Linked DNA regions of Homo sapiens: regions 2, 3, 4, 5, 6 and 7 are each linked to region 1. Evidence: promoter capture Hi-C in 16 types of primary human blood cells and fetal thymus (Javierre and others, 2016). All regions are on one chromosome and are shown on one strand. Each heading gives the region's core, a stretch centred on a gene start or on the middle of the fragment in contact. The rest is flanking DNA. Distances are from core to core; before and after follow the strand shown.

The links. The method cuts DNA at HindIII sites, captures the fragments that hold promoters and counts their contacts. A CHiCAGO score of 5 or more calls a contact.
Region 2: a fragment that was not itself captured here is called in contact with the fragment with the promoter of SELENOT in region 1 in 3 of 17 cell types (activated CD4 T cells, total CD4 T cells and total CD8 T cells); the score reaches 11.4 in activated CD4 T cells.
Region 3: a fragment that was not itself captured here is called in contact with the fragment with the promoter of SELENOT in region 1 in 1 of 17 cell types (total CD8 T cells); the score reaches 5.2 in total CD8 T cells.
Region 4: the fragment with the promoter of RNF13 here is called in contact with the fragment with the promoter of SELENOT in region 1 in 11 of 17 cell types (fetal thymus, total B cells, monocytes and 8 more); the score reaches 13.4 in fetal thymus.
Region 5: a contact is called between a fragment that was not itself captured here and the fragment with the promoter of SELENOT in region 1, in 1 of 17 cell types (fetal thymus). The highest score is 5.7, in fetal thymus.
Region 6: a fragment that was not itself captured here is called in contact with the fragment with the promoter of SELENOT in region 1 in 3 of 17 cell types (total B cells, naive B cells and total CD8 T cells); the score reaches 7.9 in total B cells.
Region 7: a fragment that was not itself captured here is called in contact with the fragment with the promoter of SELENOT in region 1 in 2 of 17 cell types (total CD8 T cells and total CD4 T cells); the score reaches 6.8 in total CD8 T cells.

Annotation. Positions count from the first base shown.
Region 1 is chr3:150,601,285-150,604,926 of GRCh38, reverse strand. SELENOT (selenoprotein T) reads right to left here and starts at 1,606. Exons shown (of 6, transcript NM_016275.5): 1 at 1,428-1,606. The coding sequence starts at 1,564. LOC124900547 (a long non-coding RNA gene) reads left to right here and starts at 1,744. Exons shown (of 2, transcript XR_007096128.1): 1 at 1,744-1,983. RefSeq lists enhancers at 1,148-1,447, 722-1,495, 1,468-1,617, 1,738-1,817. The HindIII fragment of the contact is 3,294 bases long and covers 1-2,134 here.
Region 2 is chr3:151,213,121-151,216,981 of GRCh38, reverse strand. The region is part of intron 16 of MED12L (mediator complex subunit 12L); the gene reads right to left. P2RY14 (purinergic receptor P2Y14) reads left to right here. Exons shown (of 3, transcript NM_014879.4): 3 at 2,642-3,861. The coding sequence starts at 2,666. The coding sequence ends at 3,682. Among named protein-coding and RNA genes, the nearest start is that of GPR171, 12 kb to the right of the region's middle. The HindIII fragment of the contact is 6,767 bases long and covers 1-3,861 here.
Region 3 is chr3:151,194,993-151,198,675 of GRCh38, reverse strand. The region is part of intron 16 of MED12L (mediator complex subunit 12L); the gene reads right to left. It overlaps GPR171 (G protein-coupled receptor 171), which reads left to right. Exons shown (of 3, transcript NM_013308.4): 3 at 1-844. The coding sequence ends at 249. Among named protein-coding and RNA genes, the nearest start is that of GPR171, 6.4 kb to the left of the region's middle. The HindIII fragment of the contact is 1,019 bases long and covers 816-1,834 here.
Region 4 is chr3:149,811,502-149,815,111 of GRCh38, reverse strand. It overlaps RNF13 (ring finger protein 13), which reads right to left and starts at 1,897. Exons shown (of 10, transcript NM_183381.3): 1 at 1,759-1,897. RefSeq lists enhancers at 2,054-2,163, 2,029-2,540 and a silencer at 2,374-2,523. The HindIII fragment of the contact is 6,716 bases long and covers 551-3,610 here.
Region 5 is chr3:151,169,262-151,172,943 of GRCh38, reverse strand. The region is part of intron 11 of MED12L (mediator complex subunit 12L); the gene reads right to left. Among named protein-coding and RNA genes, the nearest start is that of GPR171, 32 kb to the left of the region's middle. The HindIII fragment of the contact is 5,138 bases long and covers 1-3,682 here.
Region 6 is chr3:151,277,536-151,281,485 of GRCh38, reverse strand. The region is part of intron 16 of MED12L (mediator complex subunit 12L); the gene reads right to left. It overlaps P2RY14 (purinergic receptor P2Y14), which reads left to right and starts at 2,944. Exons shown (of 3, transcript NM_014879.4): 1 at 2,944-3,199. The HindIII fragment of the contact is 1,068 bases long and covers 1,232-2,299 here.
Region 7 is chr3:149,960,482-149,964,150 of GRCh38, reverse strand. It overlaps RNF13 (ring finger protein 13), which reads right to left. Exons shown (of 10, transcript NM_183381.3): 10 at 2,012-3,411. The coding sequence ends at 3,047. Among named protein-coding and RNA genes, the nearest start is that of PFN2, 8.6 kb to the left of the region's middle. The HindIII fragment of the contact is 7,519 bases long and covers 1-3,669 here.

The DNA of each region.
Region 1 (3,642 bases), core at 357-2,856:
TAGTTGGGATTACAGGCATGCGCCACCACGCCAGGCTAATTTTTGTATTTTTAGTAGAGATGGGGGTTTCTCCATGTTGGTCAGGCTGGTCTCGAACTCCCGACCTCAGGTGATCCGCTAGCCTCGGCCTCCAAAGTGCTGGGATTACAGGCGTGAGCCAGCGAGCCCGGCCTTGTTTGTTTTTAATCAGGAGAAATTGCAATGTTTTAGTTTTCACTCAAAAAAATAAAGTCTCACCATCTTATTTTCTAACTCAAACATCACCTTAAGCCGATTTTTAAAAATTATTTTAAAGGTTTGCTTGGTCTTCAGTGAGTAAGTAAAAAGCTAGTTGGAGAAGTAGAAAATCAAAACTTTAATATACTAATACATGAAGTTCTTAAAAGAAGGTTTTAAATGAATGATGTCCAACACCAACATTCCAATGTATCCGGACTCTGATGATTTACTAATCTGGCTATTCTGGGATGGTCGGTTTATCCTGAGAAAATGTCATCTTTGGAGGTGTAAGATTCTCATTTCTATAATTTTACAATTTTGGTGTTTTTTCCCCCATCTTCAGAGCCTTTCAATCCCCACCCGCAACCCCACTTACCGTATAAAATGCATCATTGCCCTGCTTCTAACGATTAGGTTAAAAACAAAATCATTTAAAGAACACTGTCGAAAACTGCCGAGATCTGCTGGATACACAAGACAACTGAAAGGTAGAAAGAGATGCCAGAGCAGGCAACTCCTGGGAGGCAGGTGAGGAGGGAATGCGAGCGAACTGTCAATGTTTAGAAGAACAACGTGCTCCTTTTCTGACACTTTGGAAATGGCAAACAGAACCAGCATCCCCAGACCTTCCTTCCACCCCCTCCAGCTGTCAGACGCCCCATTCGCAAACTCAACAGTCCCCCCAGCAAGTTCAGGAGAAAAACGGCGTCTGTCACTCCCGGATCCTCTCCAATGACCCGAATTAACCTTCATCTAGCCAGGCAGCGAAGCCGCCCGGCATTACCCCGGAAAAGAGGGCAGAAAAAGTGAACTGACAAACGGTTGGCGCTCCTCCGCCGACGCGGCGCCTACTCATCCCCATCTCCGCAGGCAGCCGGGGTGGCTATGGCGTGACGCCGCCAACCAGTCCTCCGTACTAACAGGTGTCCCCCAGTCTTCGCCTTTCAGCGTTTAACCTTCTCGCGCCCTCCTTCCCCATTCCCACTGTTCTAGGAGGCAAAAAACAAGTGAGCAGTTATACCTGGAAAAGGAGGGCGGCCTGACCGCGCTAAGGGGCCGCGAGAAGGCTGGCTGTGGAAGGGCGCCGGCACAGTTCTACGAGGCCAGCGAAGATGCGGCCATTTAGGCCGCGAAGCCGGGGCCTCGCGTAGCCAATGGCGCCGAGCAGAGGCGCGGCGGGGTGGCCGGGGCCCAGTGCACATACTCACCAAATCTGGAACTTGAGCAGCGGCCCCGTGGCGTACTGCATCTTTAATCTCTTGCTGGGCACGCCGCCCAGATTGGCCGAGGCCTCGCTCCGGACCATCGCAGACGCCGCCACTAGGAGAAGCAGCAGAAGCCTCATCTTAAATGAGCCAGCCACTTCGGCCGCCCTCAGACAGACTGCAGCCAGCCCAAAGCCCAGGAGCGAGCTGCTCCCCACTGCGCAGGCGCGATCAGCCAAGGTCGGGGGAGGGGAGCAGTAATGCGCCTGCGCGGCCCGGCGCCCGCGCACACTCCTGGAGTGAAGAGCCGACCTGTTTCACTGTCCTGACTCACCACCATCTTGGTAGTGTGCAAGACTCTGGGACGGCATGAGAAAGGCAGAAAGGGAGCAAAGGAGCTGGTGGGGTGTCACAGGGCCTATGTATGAGGCAGATGTGAGTTCTGCATCCAGTTTTGCAATTTATCCATTTACCTGCCTGAGACTTGGAAACACCTACTTTATAGTCCTGATTCAAGTGTTGGCGGATGGAAGGGAGGAGACTCCTGACCCTCAGAATGGTAATGCTGAAATTTTTTGGGTGCGCTGTTATGGCCTTTTCTTTGATCTTACAATATTGCTTTCTCCTGAAAGAATATTAAACATAAGTTTTAGGAAACCTTTGGACAATTCCAAACATATCCAAAAATAGAATAACTACCTTAGCAAGCTTTAACAGTTACTATACATTTTGACAATCTTGATTTGTCTATATCTCTAAACACTTCTTCCCTTCCTAGGCATATTTGGAAGCAAATCTCAGACATCATATCATTTCATCTGTATATATATATTTTTAAACACGGTCTCACTGTCACCCAGGCTGGAGTTCAGTGGCGTGATCATAGCTTACTGCAGCCTCACACCCCTGGGCTCAAGCAGTCCTGCCTCAGCTTCCCAAGTGGTTAGGAATACAGGCACAGGCAACTATGCCTGGCTTACAATTATTTAAGCACATATTTCTAAAAAAGAATTATTATTAAAAAGAAAAAAAATTGACCACAGTGTTTCACATGTCCGTGTGAAGAGACTACCAAACAGGCTTTGTGTGAGCAACACAGCTGTTTATTTCACCTGGGTGCAAGCGGGCCGAGTCCGAAAAGGGAGTCAGCAAAGGGTGGTGGGATTATCATTGGTTCTTATAGGTTTTGGGATAGGCGGTGGAGTTAAGAGCAATATTTTGGGGGCAGGGGTTGGATCTCACAAAGTACATTCTCAAGGGTGGGGAGAATTACAAAGAACCTTCTTAAGGGTGGGGGAGATTACTGATCAACAAAGTACATTGATCAGTTAGGGTGGGGCAGAAACAAATCACAATGGTGGAATGTTATCAGTTAAGGCTATTTTCACTTCTGTGGATCTTCAGTTGCTTCAGGCCATCTGGATGTATATGTGCAGGTCACTGGGGATATGATGGCTTAGCTTAGGCTCAGAGGCCTGACATTCCTGTCTTCTTATATTAATAAGAAAAATAAAACAAAATAGTGGTAAAGTGTTGGGGCAGCGAAAATTTTTGGGGGTGGTATGGAGAGATAATAGGCGATGTTTCTCAGGGCTGCTTCGAGCGAGATTAGGGGCGGCGTGGGAACCCACAGTGGGAGAGATTCAACTGAAGAAAGATTTGGGGGTAAGGGGTGATATTGTGGGGTTGTTAGAAGGAGCATTTGTCGTATAGAATTATTGGAGATGGCCTGGATGCAGTTTTGTATGAATTGAGAAACTAAATGAAAGACACAAGGTCCGAATAAAAGAAGGAGAAAAATAGGTATTAAAGGACTAAGAATTGGGAGTACCCAGGACATCCAATTAGAGAGTGTCCAAGGGGGTTCAACGTTGTTGTCTGCTTGGTTGGAGAGTTTTTGGGCTCTATCTCTATCCTTAAGTTTTTTTATGTTGTCATATACCAGGCCAGATTGATTTAGGTAAAAACAACACTCTTCATTTAAAAATATACAAAGTCCTCCTTTTTCAGCAGTGAGTAAGTCGAGGCTTCAGTGATTTTCAAGGAAAGAGAGGAGGTGGGAAGGCCAAACTGAGGAATTATGTCTGACAGAAGGGAAGAAATGACCGCGGTGGCCTTCTTAGACCCTGTGGGAAAGGCCTCTACCCACCCAGTGAAATGTCTACCCAAACCAAGAGGTATTTTAGTTTCCTGACTTGAAGCATGTGAGTAAAGTCAA
Region 2 (3,861 bases), core at 911-3,410, 610 kb before region 1:
GGTTGTGTGGCTTAGGACTGGGAAACCAAATTAGACCTGGGAATACAGCAGCATGCATTCTCTCAAGCTCTGCAAGACTGGCATTTAAACCAAAATGCATCTAACTGTCAAGAGACAGTTACCAGACAAATTAGTTACCAGCCACAGACTCTTAGTCACAGTAGACAGCTAAAAATGGAAAATGTGCTCCCCCTCCCTTATCTTTTAAAATATGAAACAGGCTCATAAGGAGAAAGGCGATAGAAGACCTACAAAGAAGCAAATGAGTACAAACCCATCATGCCCAGAGCCAAGCACACAAGGCTACAGGGAAGAGGAAGAATAGTGCTAGTGAAAGGTTTTGTGGAGGAAGTGATTTGGGGTACTCATTCCTTCTATAGGAAGTCCATAGACTGGCAAAATCAAGTCTATCAATATTTCTAGTTTTGCCATAAAGCAAAAGGAAAGCATATGGGAAAGGAAAATACGCAGAAACAAGATATTCTTGTGTAGGAAGCAGCACACAAGTTTACATGGATGTACTATTTTTTATGTGGAATGTGACTGTATTTCATATTCCATATTTCAAAATATCCCTTTGTCATGCTTAAATGTATCAACCTAACTTGTCATTCACTGTGATATGCACTGTGCTGGCACCACAAATACAGATGAAAAAGATGCATTCTCTGACATCAAGGTACCCACTGTTCCCACAATCTTTCTTTCCCTTGATCCCTGAATAAATCTTAAGAGCAAGGATTCATGCCTTGTATTCCCAGAGTGCATATTCATTTATTTCACAAATATTTTAACTATCTAATGCCCTAAATATTATGCAAAGAATTCAAGAGTAAAAAAATGACATGATCTTTCTCCTCTGAAGGAGCTTGTAGTAGTGGAAGAGACAAACAGCTGGAGAGAGGAGTGTTGATAGGAGAAAGACACAGGATGATAAGCACACACTCAACCCACCCCAAACCAGGCTAGGAAAGTTGAGGTTTCCTAAGGAAAGTGACAGCTAAGCTGAGGCCTTGAGGATAAAGAGAAGTTAGCCAGCCAAGAAGGTATGGAAACAGTTTTCCACACAAATGAAAGTCTGTGCAAAGGTCCAGGCTGAGAGAAATCACAGAACCTAAAAGGAGGCAGATGGGCCCAGGACAGCAGGAACTCAGTGCTGGGGGTGGAGGAAGCAGGAGGCAGAACAAGAAAGGACTTCAACATTACAGACTTAGGGCATTCTCCTGAGGGCAAGGACAGACTACTAAAGGGTTTTAAGCAGGATAATTGGTACTGTTCACATATAAGATGGGCAGTAAACATCTGTTCCGATATATCAAATAACCTTTTGAATTTAATTCTAGTCTTCCCTCTGCCCTAAATCAACACTTCCGACATCAGTGAAGAATATACAGGATTCCTAAACAATAGAAGTTCTGGATAACACCTAGCACAGCACTGTGCAATAAAACCATAATGTGAAACACATATGTAATTTAAAATTTCCTAGTAGCCAGAGTCTTAAAAAGTAAAATTAAGTTAAATTTAAGAGTAATAATATATTTTATTTAATAGAGCATTTGTAGAATATTACTTCAACATGTGATCAGTATTAAAAATACTGAGATATTTTACATTTTTTCATTCCAAGTCTGCAAAGTCTAGTGTGCATTTTATACTTAACAGAACATCTCAATCTGGACTGGCCATATTTCAAGTGCTCAATACCCACACATGGCTAGTGGCTACCATACTGAATAGTACAGATGTAGAATGTACTTTGGGAAGCATTTCTCAGAATGCTTAAAGTACTTTTTATCATTTGTTTGTATTTGTATTCTAATTTATTAAAATAATGCAAATCAGTTTTTCAATGGGAAAAAAAAAAAGCTCAATATTGAAAAGGTACCCATAATCCCATACCAAAAATACCGGTTAACATTTGAATGTATATGTTTGTTAGACACTGTCTTCATGTCCAACATATATGTAGAATACACTTTTCTAAAAGTAAGGTCCGTCTGAATAGCTCTTAATATGTAAACATTTATAATGATTTTTATGAATCCATAAAAATTTCTCTTTTAGGAAAAAACAATCACATTTCCAACATAGGTTTTAAAAAAATACATTACACATGGGATTCTGAATAAAATAAAACATTAATTCTGCTTTTACAGTTACTACCTTTTAAGATTATACCTAAATGAGTATTTCCTAGAACTCTGGAGTTTTATAGGGAACCATTATTATTTTAGGGGCATGCTGGTCTCCGTATTACCTAGAAGTTCTCAGAGACTGCCCTGCTGCTCCAGTTTCTCTTTACTGCCACCTGTCTGCTCCATTCTTCCCTTTTCATTGCCCAAAAAAAAGGAAGAAGGAAGAGGAGGGAAAAGGGAGGGGGAGAGGGGAGAAGGAAGAAAGGAGTGGGGGTTGGTGGGTAAAGGGGGAAAGAGGGAGGGAAAGGAGAAAAGGAAGACCAAAAGAAAGAAAAGGAAGAACAGAGGGAGGGAGGGATGAGTGTCTAACTTACACAGAGTAAAAAGGTGGCTTCAAAAATTTGGTAGGTTTGACTATATTCATTGCCCTTTGCCTTATTACTCAGCAAATGTCTTGGAGGCCATAAGTGCCCTATGAGTGACCAGTTCACACCTCTTTTCAGGCCTCTGCCTTCAGAAGTTACAAGATGATCAATTCAACCTCCACACAGCCTCCAGATGAATCCTGCTCTCAGAACCTCCTGATCACTCAGCAGATCATTCCTGTGCTGTACTGTATGGTCTTCATTGCAGGAATCCTACTCAATGGAGTGTCAGGATGGATATTCTTTTACGTGCCCAGCTCTAAGAGTTTCATCATCTATCTCAAGAACATTGTTATTGCTGACTTTGTGATGAGCCTGACTTTTCCTTTCAAGATCCTTGGTGACTCAGGCCTTGGTCCCTGGCAGCTGAACGTGTTTGTGTGCAGGGTCTCTGCCGTGCTCTTCTACGTCAACATGTACGTCAGCATTGTGTTCTTTGGGCTCATCAGCTTTGACAGATATTATAAAATTGTAAAGCCTCTTTGGACTTCTTTCATCCAGTCAGTGAGTTACAGCAAACTTCTGTCAGTGATAGTATGGATGCTCATGCTCCTCCTTGCTGTTCCAAATATTATTCTCACCAACCAGAGTGTTAGGGAGGTTACACAAATAAAATGTATAGAACTGAAAAGTGAACTGGGACGGAAGTGGCACAAAGCATCAAACTACATCTTCGTGGCCATCTTCTGGATTGTGTTTCTTTTGTTAATCGTTTTCTATACTGCTATCACAAAGAAAATCTTTAAGTCCCACCTTAAGTCAAGTCGGAATTCCACTTCGGTCAAAAAGAAATCTAGCCGCAACATATTCAGCATCGTGTTTGTGTTTTTTGTCTGTTTTGTACCTTACCATATTGCCAGAATCCCCTACACAAAGAGTCAGACCGAAGCTCATTACAGCTGCCAGTCAAAAGAAATCTTGCGGTATATGAAAGAATTCACTCTGCTACTATCTGCTGCAAATGTATGCTTGGACCCTATTATTTATTTCTTTCTATGCCAGCCGTTTAGGGAAATCTTATGTAAGAAATTGCACATTCCATTAAAAGCTCAGAATGACCTAGACATTTCCAGAATCAAAAGAGGAAATACAACACTTGAAAGCACAGATACTTTGTGAGTTCCTACCCTCTTCCAAAGAAAGACCACGTGTGCATGTTGTCATCTTCAATTACATAACAGAAATCAATAAGATATGTGCCCTCATCATAAATATCATCTCTAGCACTGCCATCCAATTTAGTTCAATAAAATTCAAATATAAGTTTCCATGCTTTTTTGTAACATCAAAGAAAACAT
Region 3 (3,683 bases), core at 76-2,575, 590 kb before region 1:
CCTTACCACATTGTCCGAATCCCGTATACCCTCAGCCAGACAGAAGTCATAACTGATTGCTCAACCAGGATTTCACTCTTCAAAGCCAAAGAGGCTACACTGCTCCTGGCTGTGTCGAACCTGTGCTTTGATCCTATCCTGTACTATCACCTCTCAAAAGCATTCCGCTCAAAGGTCACTGAGACTTTTGCCTCACCTAAAGAGACCAAGGCTCAGAAAGAAAAATTAAGATGTGAAAATAATGCATAAAAGACAGGATTTTTTGTGCTACCAATTCTGGCCTTACTGGACCATAAAGTTAATTATAGCTTTGAAAGATAAAAAAAAAAAAAACAAAAAAAAACTCAGTATGAAAAAATACAGTTAGCTAGCAAATATGGACAGGTTTACTTAGAAATCCTGTTTCTAAATGCAAGTCAAGCTTTATTGTTAGGCTTGCTGCTACTCATTAACCCAAATATTTGTACAAAAAACTAAAGAGTCTCATTGAACGAATGTAAAATCCTGCAATATCCTTGAAATCCAAAAGAGGTCCATGACATAGACCCAAAGGTATTCATGAGTTATTCATTTAAATGCCTGGAACTGACTTCTTGATAAAAATATAAAAAATAATTTCCATGTAAGTTACCAGAAAGCCCACCAGCAACATAATTTTAAAGCCTTTCAGATTACTTTTAAAAAATGCAGCTTACATATAACAACTTGTGCCTATTTTATTTCTAATCTATCACTTCAAAAGATGGTAATCTTTCAACTCATTATTCCTCCAATTTTTAATGTCGAATTTTTTTCTAACACAATAACCAAAAGCTTTTATTTATAAAAAGGCTTGAAAAATATAGACAATCTTTAATGTATTATTTGTAATTATATTCTACCTGTAGGTTATAATAAAGGCTTCCTGATGTTAGTAATAATACATTTAGTGACTTCTCATTTCTATTTTGAAGTAACATGAAACACAGAGGCCCTGTAACATTTCAGAGGGAGTTGTTAAGTTATACTAACTACTGAAACTAGTGTTTTGGAACTAGAAAATCACATCGATAGCACATCAATGGTAAAACAGCACCAGTCAGATGGTCTTTATAAAACAGATACACTGACTTCGCATAGCAAGGCCGTGTTAGGAATGTAGCACAGGCCGAGCTACTCAGTGCCACCCAGGTCCAGAAAGATGAGCCTGACTCCACGTAGGGCCCCAGTTTAAAGTATAGGTGACTCCAGCCGGGCGTGGTGGCTCACACACTTTGGGAGGCTGAGGTGGGCAGATCTCAGGTCAAGGGTTAGAGATTAGCCTGGCCCACATGATGAAACCCCCTCTGTACTAAAAATACAAAATTTAGCCTGCTGTGATAGTGCACGCCTGTAATCTCAGCGACTTAGGAGGCTGAGGCAGGAGAATCATTTGAACCTGGGAGGCAGAGGTTGCAGTGAGCTGAGACTGCGCCACTGCACTCCGGCCTGGGCAAAAAGAGCGAGACTCTGTCTCAAATAAATAAGTAAATAAATAAATAACAATAAAGTATAAGCTGACTCCAGCTCTCAGAGTCACAACTCTGATCAAATTCTCTCCACTGCTGGTGATGCAGAAAGAATACACAGCATTAAATAAAAGACTTATTAGGAAAAAGAATATTGGAAAAATTTAGATAAGCATACATGATGACTTTGTGTTTTTTATTTCATTAGTAAAATAAGCCCATATAAAAACCGCTGGTAAATCCATTTGCATTAGCTGCAATGATTAAGAAATGGTGTTCCTGAAAGCTAGGAAAACAAGTTTGATTCCAAACTCATTTTTGCATTTCACAAATTATTTTCTAAAGCTTGAAAATCCTATCTACAATTCCATAAAAATATTCTGACTCTGCAGTGAATAATAAATGAGAAAATGCATGAAGTGCCTATTACAAAACATACAACAAGATAATGCTATACAATTCTAGCTAGCTAATGGTAATGACAGAAACTCCAGCAGCCTCACACATCTGACACAGTGTAAATGACTTACCTCAGTTGCAGGCTGTAGAATGCCTATCCACTAGAACCTGTGTTTGCTGGTAGTCTAGGAAACATGGTTCACTAATGGGCAGATCAAGTATTATTCACAGAATAGCATCATGAAACTGTTTTTCTGAATCTTTGGTCAAGCCCCCTTTAGTCCTCTTCTCTTTGGTCTTCATTTAGTAGGGCCCCATATGACAGATGGGGACATGGAAAACACTTTTCTTAACCATATTTTTATAGTCTCCTCACATGCAATGAGAAGCTAGTCAGATTTTCTCTTTTTATTAAGGGAAAAAAAACAGACAGTAGCATTCCTAAAGTCAGTGTTATATTAGCATATCCTTTGGCTTCTTCTGAATTGAACTCATGGTAACAGGGAGTTTAGGGCAACCAGTGGTGGAAGGCTATTAAAAAATGTATCCTACAATATCAATTGTCTAGCAGTTCTTTCATGAATTGTTATAGTTAAATTATCTCATGATTCATTATGACATGTGGTCACTGAAAATCATTTAAGCTCTTTCTTCCAAGGAAGTAGAATGTTAAATGCAGGGAAAGGCTGTAAAACCAAGGTCACAGGAACAACAGAATAAAGAAGCTGAGGCTTAGTGTCCAGCTCTGACACCCAGACACCTGGGAGAGAGACATGCAAAGCTCTGTTTACCCAAGAAAGGAACACATAACCCTCAACCATTCAACCAGTTTCAAACACTTTCAACATTTTGCCATCTTTGCTTAATTTATCACCCCCCTTAATTCTTTCTTTTAAATAAACTTTTTATTAGAGTAATTTCCGATTTACAGAGAAGTTGCAAAATAGTACAGAGAGTTCCATATGCCATTCAGCCAGTTTTCTCTAATGTAAATGACTTAAGAGAACCACAGTACATTTGGTGAAACTAAGAAGTTAACATTGGTATATTACTATTAAATAAACTCCGGACGTTAATATTGTCTCCCTTTTTTACCCAGAATATTTTAAAAACAAATCCCAGACATCATGATAGCTCATCTATAAATTCTTCAGGATACATCTCTAAAATATAAGGCTACTCTTTCTGCTCCCCTAAATAAACTGTGAGATTATTCCATTATATTATAAATGAATAATGTCTATAGGTAACAGTAGAAAAGCATAGATATTATTCAGGCAGTGATAGATAAGAACAAACTTTGGCAAGTTTTGACATATCCCTGGACATAGAAAAATTAACAAAAAATGGATTAATTGTAATAAGGAAAAAAATATGGGTTTGATAATTTGACAAGTTTTGAAATGGCCCTGGACATAGAAAAATTACAAAAAAAGAGACTTTTAACTGTAATAAGAAAAAAATAAATGGGTTTGGTAATTTTGAAAGTCATTTCAGGAGATATTCCAAAATACCAAAATAAATAAATAAATAAATAACTTAACAGAATACTTTGTTTTGCTGATAAAAACTCCTAGAAGATACCCAGAAAGTAACGTAATACATCTACAATTACTTTTTCTATTTTGAGACAGAGTCTCCCTCTGTCGCCCAGGCTGGAGTGCAGTGGTGTGATCTCGGCTCACTGCAAGGTCCACCTCTGGGGTTCACGCCATTCTCCTGCCTCAGCCTCCTGAGAAGCTGCGACTACAGGCGCCCGCCACCAGGCCTGCTAATTTTTTGTATTTTTAGTAGATA
Region 4 (3,610 bases), core at 648-3,147, 790 kb after region 1:
TGCCCCTCCAAAATTATTGAGAAAATTAGCTTTATACAAGCATAGATGAGAACTTATCCCAAACCCTTCAGTATTATACCTCTCAAACCAAGATTCTGTCTATGATTTGCATTACACATAGAGACAAGATGTCAAGCTGCCTAGCTTCAAACAAAGGCAGAGGTTAAAAAAAAAAAAACTAATAAAACAGTTCTCATTCCCTACATAGAGAAAAATAACTGTGCCTCTCTCCAACAGTTTCCAACAAAACAAAAAAAAATTATGTAATAGACAAATTTTGTTTCATTTAATCCTCATAACAACTCATTTCTTATTTACGGAAAATGTCACAGAATTAGTAAATGGCAGAGCTGAACCCAGCTTGACTCCCAAATTTGGAATTTAGTATTTTGAAACATTTGTTTTTGCCATAATCCATAATACACTTTACATTTCCATCTTCCTCTTGACACACACATACTGTTAAAAACTGAAACAAAAGCTTCTTGCCATAATATTTACTTTTATTCCATACAATGTCCTCTGGTATTTTTTCTTTCTTTATAAAGCTTATGTCAATGTACTAAATTGATTCTAAAATCTATTAATGAATCCTTATGGGCCCTGCACTACAGCACTGCACTACACTTCCTGCACTACAGCACTGCACTACACTTCTTACCTCCTGTTTAAAGTTCTTTTTAATTGCTATCACTGTCCAGTTTTGTTACTTCGAGATGGAGCTAATGTCCACCCATTAAAAAACTGTGCTTAAATAGCATAAACTCTTGAAAGCCCTACCTTAAATCTTGAATTGATCTGTTTCTCCAGAAGAACTCTTTGGAGGCACAGCCACCTTACTTATTTATATTGTATCAAAAACTGCAGATGTTCTCCTTGGAGAACAAACACATCATTGTTGAAAGGAATGCATCAGTTTTCACTGTTTCTGCTGCATCACTGACGAACAGTAATAGCCGGGCAGGTTTGGGGCAACAAGAGAGGACCCGAGCAGCTGCCCACGGTGCTGAAACTGATGATGAAACGACAGTTTTGGAAATTTACTATTTACTATTGTCAGATTAGGACAAAATAGAGGAATTTACCAGACACTGGCAGAGAAAACTGAGTGGCCGCCACCAAAGTTGCATGAGTGCTTCCGGGATACTGCTGTTTGGCTTCGATGTCTGCCCACTCTCTCTTTCTCTCTGGGACAAAGTTATTTAATAAGTGCAAGTCAAGTCAAGTCAAGCATACAGGCAGAGCTGCTGACTGACCGTAGTATCTGGCCCTAGCAGGGGTTAAGTCCCAAACCTGCAATCTGAGCTTCCAGGGAAAGAAAAAGGGGGTGGGGGTAAAAGAGAGGAAGTGACTGCCCTCCTTCTATTCAGAGACAAAACAGCCCCCTCAACTAAAGTCAAGCGATGTGCCCGAGGACGTTGCGGCAGGTACTTGACCAAGAAAAGCCTTCCAAACATGTTTTCCAGGCAGGCTCTTGCAGCCTCAAGAAGGGAATGAGAGAAGCAAAACCGGTAACTCAACTTTGGACACACACAAACTCGCGGAATGAGAGTGCAGGGGAGACTCGGTCCCCCGAGGGCAAGGCTATTTTATTCCTTTTGCAAAAAGCCTAATTGACTTCTCACCCAGCTCTAGAGGAGCAGCAAAGACCTCAGCAGCAGGGCCGACTCCGAGCTCGAGGGCCAACAAGCGGGGTATGTTCTCTGGGCCGCTCGATAACGAGCTGCCCGGCTGCCGCGAAGCCGGACAGGGTCTTACCTTGAAGTCCGGCCCCCGCAACACAAACAGTCTTGCCAGCCGCGTCGCTGCGGGAGAAGTCCCTACCCTGATTTCATGACTGAATATCCGCACCGACCCCCACAGCCCGGAGTACTAGCAGGGACGACAACACCTAGGCGAAGCGGAAGTCCCGCCCCACGCGCCTCATTGGTCCGCACCCAAAGGCACAGAAAACCCACTGGGCAACATGGTTGCCTGTTAAGGCTCTTTCCCACTCTCACGCGGAGTCTCGCTACTTGCTCTAGCCCGGCTCGGAGAAATGCCCAGTTTGCGAGTCTCGTTCTTGGCCGCGTGATCCGTCTTCCCTGGAAGGGAAGAGCAGGGTGGGGCAGGCGTCTGCGGAACTGGAGCGCGGCTGAAGAAGCTGCTCTTGGCAGAGGAAGGGGCAGGCTGGCAAAGTGGATTGGCTGTGGGCGCCTGCCGCTAACCATGTGCCCCTAGAAACGGAGACCGTAGGGTCTGGAGGGCGCGGGACCGAGCGGGCAGGGCCGGTCGGTCTGATCTGCTCCGGCTGTTGGGACAGAGTAGCCCAAGATTCGGCTGCCGGGCTGCCCCCGGGCGGGCCTGGCCCTGGCGCTGACGCGTCTCTTCCCTGCACACTACACTCACCCGACCTACTAAAGAGGCGAGGGCGAGGCCTCATCCGCCCGCCTTCCGTACCGTGCCCAGTCTGAGATCAGAGTGGGTGGGGACCGTGGCCACACCTTAAAGTAGGGCTCAAATTGTTAGAGATGCGAGCGGCCCGAGGTCTGAACGCCAGTCCCCTGAGGCCTGGCTCGGATCCACGCTGGCATCAGCACTCTGGGCCTGACACGCGCCATCCCCGGGGCTTAGCAAAAGTCAAACCATGTGATTCAGGCCCTAGGTCAGCCTTTTAAAACCCTTGCCTCCTTTTGATGAACCAAAAATCTCCTCCCCTGCCGCCCTTCTGATAAGCCTTCCTTTCTGGTTGTCTCAATCTTAAACCAGTCGAAACTTAAATTACCGGATTGTACCATCCACATTGATTAATCATTGCCAACTCGCCACCTTACAAAAGCAGTGTGACTTAGGCAAATATTACAGAGTCCTGAAAGAAATGTCAGGAGACATAGAATCAGGCACTACTTCTGCTTCAAATAATAAGGCACCCTTAATAAGGCCTTTACAGGCTTCAACTCCTTCAACATCATCTTTTAAAAATGGTGGCGAGGAGGCTATCACACAGAGTATTAGTAGAATACCATTGGATGTAACTTGTCACTTTGATTGCTTGGAGAGCCCTGAGTAGGTGGGACACAGCAATGGGGAAAAGACTCTTTCCTTATTGTGTATCCTTTTGTGCCTTTTGAATTTTGAACCTTGCAAATATTACCTACTCAAATAAAATTCAAATACAAGAAATTTAAGATCAAATTTTAAAAAATTAAATAAAAGCTATCAAAGGTACTTTCCTCTTCTGTGTATCCTATGAGTATTCTATGTAGTCTTAACTTTTCATTGGTTGCAAAGACATTCAATACTTAAATCACAATTCTGCCTTTAAGAAAGTCATAAATAAAAGTCAGCATTGGGAATATTACTAAGAAGACTAATTAGTATAAACACATTTATAATATCTCTATAAGCATTTTTTTCATTAAATTATCCCAAATTGGTATATTAAATCAGATTTCTTGCATAACATCAAAATAAATTTTTTTAGGCCGGGTGCGGTGGCTCATGCCTGTAATCCCAGCACTTTGGGAGGCCAAGTCAGGCGGATCACTTGAGGTCAGGAGTTCAAGACCACACTGGCCAACATGGTGAAACCTCGTCTCTACTAAAAATACAAAATTAGCCGGGCATTGTG
Region 5 (3,682 bases), core at 708-3,207, 570 kb before region 1:
CCAAACTTTTACTAACACATTATTTCAAAAAATAAGAAAATACTAGTTGTAAAAGACTAGCAACGCTTCCTTTGGGTGTCCAGTAGGAAATGTGTTAGCTTCTGAAGCACAATACACTTCTGGCTGGGCTGTGATCAGCATCAACAACATAAATTCAGCACACCTGGATCTCAACAGAAAGCCATCCATGCACATTTTCCTTGCTTGCTTGACTTTTGCCTTATTTGACTTTCTGCAGTCTTGGTTTTAGAAACTGACTTTTTTCCTTAAACAACAACAAAACCTAAGCATTTAAATGAACATGATTTCCTTTACAACATGGTCCTGCAGCTACCCCATCCTGAGTGGATCAATGCCATCCAACTGCCTCCCTACAGAGAGTAAAGACTTCATGAAAACCAGCAAATGTAAAAAGCCCAAAAGATCCTGGCTGTGCCTTATGATTAGTAGACTGCGTGATGGGTATCTGTGTGTGCCCACAGTAGCCCCAAGGGGCCCACTATGAGTCTCTGATCATATTCCTTCCAATTCTGCAGTTTTTAACTAACTCTATATACATCAGTCAGTAATAATAGCAGCTAGTGTTTATTAAGTACCCATTTACATGCTGGGAACTATAAATATTTGAATGGTTTATCAATCAAATATTTCATGTCATTTTCACATCGTCAGGAAATAGCATGCCCATTTTACAAAATGAGGAAACTGAGACTCATCAAAAATACGTGAATTGTCCAATGTCCCTAAAGAAATACACTAAACTGCTGATTTCACAGCAGAGAGCTCCCCTGTCAGCCACACCCCTACCTCTACCTGCACGTACTCTCTCCCACATCTGAATCTAAGCATTCGTCTAAGACTGATATATACAGATTCCATGACTGTATTCATCTCTACCTTTCCAAGCCAAATCTTATAGGGGTGCTTCCCCTTCCAGTTCACTGCCCGAGTAGCTTTTTAATGAGGTCTAAAAAATGAATTCAATAAATGCGACTGAGCATCTCCTGGGCCCCATGCATGGTACTTGGGGCTGATAATGTGCATAAGGTGAGGAGAAGAAGAAACATAGACCCCAGGGAAACGCTTGCAGGAAGACAAATGTGGAACAAGCCCAGCACTGACAGAAAGCGAGCTTTTGTCCTCTGGATCGTGGTGGTGAAGCAGAGTTCGCCAGCTGCACTGATACAAACCTGGCTGGGCCTGGGACACTCTGTGCCACAGGTGAGGAAAGCACATTTTCTAAACTTAGGGCCTTTGCCATTCAAAACATCACTATGAACTCATCACAACCTTTCAAAGAATTCTGCACGAATAGTCTAAGCATAAAACAAATCCAAACAATAAATATGTAAGTTTCCCCGTCTGGGGTGTGTGGTTTTAGCAGCAGGGAAGGAGGAAACACACATGCTGCTGCAGGAACACTCTGTCCAGTGCAGCCGGTTCCATCTTTTCATTACTCAGGATAAAGCTGGCTTCCTGGGACCCCCAAAGAGAGAAGTGAAAAGGCAGCTCTTCCTGCCACCTTTAGCCTGTCCCTTCTATCCATGTCCTTGAGGCACCCTAAAGATGCAGCTGCCTCCGTGCTCACACTCATCCCAAACAGAGAGATGCCAAGAGGAAGGAAGTGGTCTGAGGCCTCTGAAAAGCAAAGAGAGCAACTCCTCCTCCAGCTGCTCAGAGGTGAGGTCACAAGTGACAGGCTCAGTGAGCATGTGGAAACCAGGGGTCCCACTGTCCACATAACGACTCCTTTGTGTGGATGTCAGGATTTGCCACCTCCATCACCCAGACTAGAAATGGCTCTGAAACACTAAACAAGCAAATAAGTGAGTACATGTTGTAGAAGACATGTACCAGGAATTGAAAAGTGACAAGCATCTGAGTGAATATGGCCAGCAGACACACTGCCTGGCTGCACAGTATTTTAAAATCAGGAAAGTTTACATGCAGATCTTGACATCCAGCTTCTCTTGAAATGTTGGATGATCAGGGAACAGTGGATCCCAAGCAGAATCTAAGAATTTGAGAGGCTTCCCTCTTCAGACAGGGTCTGCCCACTTCCCAGACACCTCAACCCCCACCACCTCCAGGCTGCCTTATACATAGCATCCCCCGACTCATTCCCACTACCTGCCTGGCCACTGTGGGACATGAGCCCTGACCTCAGTATTACCATCTTTATATCTCACACTACTCTGAATGGAAAACTAAGCAGCACAGATCTAGAATAAGGAAACACTCAGGTTTTTGAGATTTTTATTTTCACCTCCCTTGCCATTATACCCAAAAGCCCAGACACAGAAACAGTGGCCAAGGAAATGGGGCGGTAAAGGGCAACAGGGAGGGAGAGTAAAGAATTAGCACATTCCAGGCCAGGTGCAGTGGCTCACGCCTGTAATTCTAGCACTTTGGGAGGCTGAGGTGGGTGGATCACGAGGTCAAGAGTTCAAGAACAGCCTGGCCAACATGGTGAAACCCCATCTCTACTAAAAATAGAAAAATTAGCCGGGCATGGTGGCAGGCGCCTATTAATCCCAGCTACTCGGGAGGCTGAGGCAGAGAATGGCTTGAACTCAGGAGGCAGAGGTTACAGTGAGCCAAGATCACGCCACTGCACTCCAGCCTAGGTGACAGAGCAAGACTCCATCTCAAAAAAAAAAAAAAAAGAAAAAGAAAAAAAGAAATAGTGCATTCCATGTGGAATCAGTGAAGGCACACCACATAGCCTGGCACACCCCAATGTGGGCACAGAATCAGCTCCTACTCCCACTCTCATGACCACAGTCCAACCACAAGGCAGGGCCCAGGCCTCGGATGCCTTCATCCCATGCACTGCAGTTTTCAACAGGCTTTCACCAATACTGAAACTGATTACACACACAAACTTCTCCCATTTAGACAGAAGTTCTCCCCTCCCTACAAGGAAGTAGAGAGGACTGCATTTCCCTGTCGCAGTTCCAGAGAAAAGGGAATTAAGGAATCAAGGAGGGTGAAATTCAGGTTTTCCCAACAGATGTGAAGAAGCAGGCTATGCAACCTGGGGCCTAGGCCTACCTAGACACGACTTCTAGTAACAGCAAACCTCCAACCTATTGCAACTACAGAAGTTGATCATGTTTTATCTATCGTGCTATCTAAATCCTGAATGAATTATGAAAACAAAAAAGGGGAAGTATATTTTAAAGAAGTGAGACCAATTTCTGAATCCTAACCACACGTAACTCCTTATCAGAGAACAGCATCATCACATTAGTTCTTCCAGTATAATACTAATAATTGCTATATTATTATTGTTAACAATTTTTAAAACATATTTGTATAGTGCCTTATAATTCTCAAAGTGTTCATGTTTCCTTAGAGAAAAAAAGGGCAAGTACTCTATGCCTACTTAACCAGGAAGGGCACTATTGCACAAAGCCTTGAGTAACTTACTCAAGATCACCAGCTGATCAGTTAACATGATGCTGCAGCACATGCATGAATTCCAGAAATACGCAAAGTGACTCTGCAGTCAAGAAAACAGGGCTGGGCACGGTGGCTCATGCCTGTAATCCCAGCACTTTAGGAGGCCAAGGCGGGTGGATCACTTGAGGCCAAGAATTAGAGACCAGCCTGGCCAACATGGTGAAACCCAATCTATACTAAAAATATAAAAATATTAACCGGGCGTGACGGCAGGGCA
Region 6 (3,950 bases), core at 516-3,015, 680 kb before region 1:
AGTGTTGAAAAGAGTCATTACCTACGTTGCTAAAAGTCATAATAAAATATCTTTTTATTTTTTATTTATTTATTTTGAGACAGAGTCTCACTCTGTTGCCCAGGCTGAAGTACAGTGGCGCAATCTCAGCTCACTGCAACTTCCACCTCCCGGGTTCGAGTGATTCTCCTGCCTCAGCCTCCTGAGCAGCTGGGATCACAGGCGAACTCCACCATGCCCAGCTAACTTTTTTTTTTTTTTTTTTTTTTTTTTTGTATTTTTGGTAGAGATAGGGTTTCACCATGTCGGTCAGGCTGGTCTGGAGCTCCTGACCTTGTGACCTGCCTGCCTCGGCCTCCCAAACTGCTGAGATTACATGCGTGAGCCACCGTGCCTAGTTTAAAATATCTAATTTCAAAAACATATGAAGATAGAATAAATATTGTCAGGCTAAAATATTTTTTCAAACATTAATACTTACTTCCAATTCTAATAAAGGAAAATGTGTACAAGCTAAACTGTGATTTAAGCATATCCACAAAATGTACAGCACAACCTAAAGACTACTTCAAAGTCCAGTCCTGCTACTTTCTAGCTTAGACAACTGTTAAATTTTCTGAGGCTCTATTTTCTTACTTGTGAAAAAAAGGAATAGTTACTTCTCCAAGGGTTGCCAGGTGTTTTGGCTGTGAAAAGATCTAGTAGGCACAGAGTACGCTTCAATCGAGTGTACGAGTATGTGCATTTGAGACGATCCAATCTTTCCAGATGAGCTTTCCTTTCAAGTGCCTAGCTGTCTGCCCCCTACCCACCCCTCACCATCCTTGTACTGCTACGTGCCAATAAAACCACAGAACAGAGGTCACAAGCTGACTGCTCACAAGCCCAATACAGTGCACACTCAGGTTTTGTTTTAGCCCACAGGGTATCAGGTCTACACTGGTTTGTAAGGTATTCGATTTAGACACCAACAAATGAAATCAGAGGAGACATATAAAGGCAGTAGCAGTGCACAGGCTCCAGGATCTGCCCAGCTCCAGCAACCTGATGTAACATCTCCATGCCTCAGTTTCCTTGTCTATTAAGAAAAAGGTGGGGAAGAAGTAGTAGACAGACCTACTTTACTCATGGAGCCATTGTGAGTAATCAAGCTAAAACACACAGAGTGTTTAGAACAGTACATGCAAATCAGCGTTTAATGTTCTGAAGACACTGGCCCATCCCAAGATGAGGCCCATGACTCTGGCAAGCTTCCAGACACAACTGTCCCCCTGGGTGGGCCCTTTAGCTTTCCATTTCTCCATACTCCCTCTACTCCCAAGTGTCTTACACAGAGTCCAACCCATTTGTACCACCTGCCACGAGGGGACCACCTGTAGGGCTATCCTTTTGGCCTTGGACTTTGCAACTCCTGGCATTAAGAGGCAAGCAAGCAGCTCCAGTCAAAGAAATTATCATGTTCTCCCCAGTCATACTCAATAACATCTATGTGAAACACCCCACGGGGAAGTCAAGAAGCAACAAATTATCATGTTCTCCCCAGTCATACTCAATAACATCTATGTGAAACACCCCACGGGGAAGTCAAGAAGCACAAAAGGGACCCGGAACAATTAATGGGTGTTTTTGAGACTGTCAGAGTAAACAGCATCTCCTGCAATAAATCAGGGAAGTCTTGAGAGTCGCACCTTAGAGATACGGTTCCTGCCAAATCATCAATTTAATCAGCAAAATGTTTACATCTGGAGGACTCTGCAATGTGCCCTGGTAATAACCAGGCTCTAGCGGCTCCTCCTCACATCCACTTGTCCTTAAGTTTATTTACCTACCAGATCTCACTGCAGCTGAAGCTAACAAGCCTCTCTATGCACATCAGTATTCTTAGCCCCTCAATCAAAGCATCAGTGAGGACTATTGGGGCCCGCTGGGGGTCTGAAGAAGAGTCCCTCTGGCAGGGAGAAATGGCGAACTTCTCTAAACAAGCTCTGTGTCTCACAGGTCTTTGCCAAGGATCAACAGTGACTAGCAAGTCTGTGAGACAGAAAGTAAGAAAATACTCTTCATGAGGGAAATAACTGTTTGGGTATGTGTCAGTCACTACTCCATCTCCAATGTCCAGAACACTGCCTCCTACGTAGCAAGTACATATAAAGCAACTAGAATAGTAACGGGCATGTCATAAGCCAGTTATAATTATTATAACTAAATGTATAGCTATGTTTTTAAGGCAAGCTGAACTTTACTAGTTGTTACCCATAATTTGGCAATGGAACAGCCTAAGTAAATACACTTAAAATGCAGGAACCTTATAAAGTAAGCTTTTCAGCCCCTTGTCTTCTTTCTTTCTGGTTCTGAGTTATACACTTTGAAGAGGACTTTGTAGCCATCTTCTGAAAACTTCCAAATCTAATGGCACTAATAGTCAATGGGAAAGACAGTGGAGCACTGCAGGACATCACCAATTATATTACAGAGCCTGAAAGGAACTAAAAATATGAAGACTTTCAAAATAGTAACACAGCACAAACACCAAAATGTTAACACACGAGGAGTTTATCTGAAGTCCTACTTGTGATCTATTTATCAGTAATGTTCAAATATGGGAAAATTAATGTGGGAAAAATGACAATGCAACACCTCTTATCTAGAATATGTCGACATTGGTGTCAAAATACTTCTTTATTCTGTTAATTCCGCATTTCCAGGTAGCTCCAACTACCCATCTCTGCACGTTATACTGTGAAGCTGCTGACAATTTTCTGAGGGTGCTTCAGAAAGAACCATATCTTACACATCAGTTCTCCACCTCATACCACATGTTGAATTTGACAATGGCAAAGGTTAGAAAAGAAAACAGGTTTTTGCCTGGCTGTGCATCAGATGATGTAGGGATGTGGGGAAAAGTAGGAGGAGAAATAAGAAAGCAGGACTGTTTTTGCATTACTGGAGGAAAGGAACTAGCTCAGAAGTCAGCCTAACACCCACAGAGATTAAAACGTCTCTTCCTTCCTCTTTGTTTCCACGTCCCAGTCTTCAATAAATTCTATCTGACAACAGCAGCAGAGGGACCCACTATCTTGTGGTTTCTGTCAAGTTCCTGATTTTCATCCGTAGTTGAAGATGAGCAAGAACTCTGTAACAGTGTTACCTTGGAGCCTACAATGAGAGGTATTTCAAAATGAGTGAAGCATGACTCTCACAGATGAAGGCCTAGACGCAGGTAAGAAAACAGCTTTTCCATGAAATGACTTGCATGTATGTGAATGGTGCATGGGAACAGAAAAGATTTCTGAGCTGGGCAGCAACAAAGCTGAGGAACACTGAACCATTGCCACTCACATTTTTCTCAGTAGGTTACTTTTTGTTTGACAACTATAATTGGTATATTAATATATTTCCCCATGCTAATATGGGGATCCAATACTGAAATATTATCATTTATGATTTAGGATTTCCAATCGTGGCTGTCAAAATATATCTGTGATGAAGAGATATCAAGGAAAATGTTTAAAAGGTATTCATCCAGGACAAACATTTCAAAAGCTCGTAAATGTGTATTAAAATTGCTTCTCAAAACTACAAAATCGATTAGCATAATACTTAGGTCAGTATGTCTTTGTTTGCAATTGCATATGTGTACAGATATATAGTTGCATTTACTTGTACATACACTTATATAGGTAAAAGTTTTTATCTTTGTCATTATTAGGATAAGTTAACCCCATTAACACCTACTAAAATAAAATGCCTTTAAATTGTAAATCACAGAAATATCTGTCCTAGGCATAGCAAATATTTGAGTTCATATGCTACTTATTTATAGTCTATGACTAATCAGCTAAATTACTTACAATTCTTTAAACATTATAAATTAAATTACATTCAGGAGAATTAGCACAGACCCACAATGTCAGCTTATTCAACCAAGCCCATGCAATCCATCTTGTCTACATATACTTTGTTAACCAAGG
Region 7 (3,669 bases), core at 235-2,734, 640 kb after region 1:
AGTCCATAAGCCCAGGAATCCCTTTTCAGAAACAATCACTGAGTCAGTCTGATTCATTTTAAGTGGTGTATATGCTACCTTTTGAGAAAAAATGGGTTAGGGAATAGGAATTAACCTGTCTTAAAATATACTATGCATAATGAAAGTTTTTTTTTCTTTGACTAGTTGTCAGGCACTGGTTGTGAATATGGTTGTACATACACAGGGATGTACAAATATGGGAGATAAAGGATTTGGGGCTATTTTGGTAGTTGGACATAACCTAGAAATTGTAAAACTATAATAAAAACCTGGTATCAGTTTCTTGACCTGTTAAGGCCAAAAGACGGGGCAAATGAAAATTTGGTGGTTGAGTTGTGATGATTTGAGATTTTACAATAATACACATTCACACTTTACATGTAAAGAACTATTAGGGTAACCAATTATAGAAGGCAGTGACCAAAATTCTGAAACTCTTAATTAATCTGTAAGTAGGTGAAGGGGCAGTGTGTATGTGTGTGTTCAGAGAGGAGGTTGTGGGTAGAGAAGGTGGTAAAGGGTGAGTGTATCACTAAAATAGTATATAATGAAACTATTCATTGGCTTTCTACCCACAATTTCATTAGAAAAATACTTAGGGAAATACATACATGCGTACTTTGCTTTGTACTTAGTTCTAGGAATTTAGCATATGGAAATGAAGCTATACAAATTTGTATACCAGAATGTCCATCATGCTGCATTACTTATGACATCCAAACTTGGAAAATATCTACAAAGTTCAGCTTTTTAAGGGGTATGGTTTGAATAAATGATTTTAAGTCCATAGGACAAAATAGTCATTGAAGAATGACATAAGAATGTTTACCAATGAATGTTAATAATATAAGGATATAAACATGTCACATGACAGTGCACATACATACAGTATTAATATACATGTATTTTACATATGTATTTCTGAAGGCAATATATTAAGATAAATTTATCTCTGGAGTGAAAGTTTCCAGGTGACTATATTTTGATTTCTAGTGTTAATATTACTTTTGTAATCAAGAAAGTTTTAAATGTTTTTTAAATAGAAATTGGATTTTAATTGCACCTACTGTCCTGTTTGAAAAGCTATACCATGAAATTATAGAACATTTCAAGTGAACATTCACAGAACCTAGTAACAGCCCTAGCCAGTGCTGCTAAATAAGACACTTCGTAGATTTTTTTTTACAGTTAGTTAGTAATTATTTGGAATTTCAAAAAAAAATTTTTTTTTCCATAAAACTCCTAACATAAAGGGACCAGGTCCTTATTCTAAACTTTGGATTAAAGACTGAGGGAATATAACATCTAATACATACTTAACCATTACCGTGACTTTTTACTTTTTTCCCTTTTCCTATTTTAAAATATTGTTTTAGGTTTGTTTTTATTTAATAATAATTATTTTGAAGGCTATTACTTATTGCGCATTGATGTGCCAGATACTGAGCTCAATGTTTTCTCCTCACACCCTCTTAGGTTAAATGAAAATTATGCAAATGACCAAGCAGGTTTAAAAAGGTTAGGGCCATACAATTATGTCAAATTCCAAACTCTGCTTAACTACCGTGGTAACCTTTGATGTCCTGTTTCTCAGGCCTGTGGTTCTTTAATTTTTTATAAAAAAGGGGAAGAGGGATGAGGTATCAGATAGCTGATGTTGAATTCAACCGTTTATTTTCCAAAGTAGAAATACCTATTTATTTTTTTCCTGATTATGAACATTATTTTTTAAAAGGCAATTTGGAAAGTGAAATTTTCCCTCGATATACCATAATTTACAACAGGGTACCAAAATGTACACTGTTTATTTTTGGAATAATTTTGGCAGCAGTCTAAACTTTTTGGGATATTACCTAACTGCATGTGAATGGTCAGTTACCTTGTATAAAGTCCTAAGGTGATGTGATTTCTCTGACCTCAATCATTATCACTTTATAGGATATATATAAATAAGGCTAATATGGTAAGTAATACTACAGTAGAACAGACATTTACTGGATCTTAAAGTGGAAAACATGTTTATTAACATTCAAACTCCCCTCATACAAGGCCATATAAAAATCCTTAGCATTTTGATTATACATTAGTCTACACTTTCTACATAGTTACAATGATGTATAATTTAGCTTTTCATAATACAGTGTTTCAATACATCATTAGTTCTGTTAAACATAAGTCACTTACTTTCAAATCCAATACTTGAACAGTTTCCTCTGTACATAGTTTAGCAGGGCTAATTAGCATAAGATGCTATTTATTAAGAGGTATATGATCTGAGTATTAACAGTTGCTGAAGTTTGGTATTTTTATGCAGCATTTTCTTTTTGCTTTGATAACACTACAGAACCCTTAAGGACACTGAAAATTAGTAAGTAAAGTTCAGAAACATTAGCTGCTCAATCAAATCTCTACATAACACTATAGTAATTAAAACGTTAAAAAAAAGTGTTGAAATCTGCACTAGTATAGACCGCTCCTGTCAGGATAAGACTGCTTTGGAACAGAAAGGGAAAAAACAGCTTTGAGTTTCTTTGTGCTGATAGGAGGAAAGGCTGAATTACCTTGTTGCCTCTCCCTAATGATTGGCAGGTCAGGTAAATGCCAGAACATATTCCAACTCAACAACTCTAGGTAACTTTATGGAGGTGGAAGCTGGGTTAGTTCATGCTAGGTGGCTGTAGCACTGACCTCATGTATAAAACGCAAAACACTTAAATACTGTGATCTAGGTCTTAATTGCAAGCTATACTGAGGATTTTTTTTTTTTTATGTTTTGGCTATACTTTCATTCCAAAAGAAGAGCTGAATTGATGCTTGAGTTACAGCACCAGTCTATTATTAGTGAATGAAGTATATTCTTGGCAGATAAATACCAGATCAAAAGTCCTGTTTCAGTAATTTGATTAAACTGTAGAATACTAAAAAATAAGTTATTTCTACAGAAATCTTTGAAGGGAGCAAAAAATCAAATTACAGTATATACCTAATCATTTTAAAGGGAAATAAACCAATCATCTTCTGAAAGTCAAACAGTATTTGCTATGTTGTAATCCCGTTCACCATTAGGCTGCAACTGGACCACGACATCATGTTCATTAATTTCATTTTCTGCATCACTACTGTCAGTATCTTCATTGTCGTCTTCCTCATAGTCTGAAGATTCTGTCATGTTCTGATGTGAGCGGGATTCCGATAAAGCCCCAAATGACTGGGCACTGACAGAAGCTAAAGGTCTCAGTAAAGGGGTATGTTCTGTCACTTCATTTTCTTCTTGACTACTGTCTGTGTCAGAGTCTGAATCGCCTTGAGAAGGAACAACTTTTTGCTTGCACACTGGACAGGTTTTTTTGGTTTTAGTTAGCCAAGGGTCTACACACTTGCAGTGATAAGCTGTTGAAGCAAAATATACATCTTTAGTTAGTATGCTGCGGTTGATACTTTTATATTTAATCTCTTGCCATATTTATTCAGTGTTCTGTATGTATCATGTAGGGACGGGAAGAAAGTTTATTTTTTATTTTTATTTTTATTTTTTTTTGAGATGGAGTCTTGCTCTGTCACCCAGGCTGGAGTGCAGTGGCACAATCTCAGCTCACTGTAACCTCTGCCTCCTGGGTTCACGCCATTGTCCTGCCTCAGCCTCCCTAG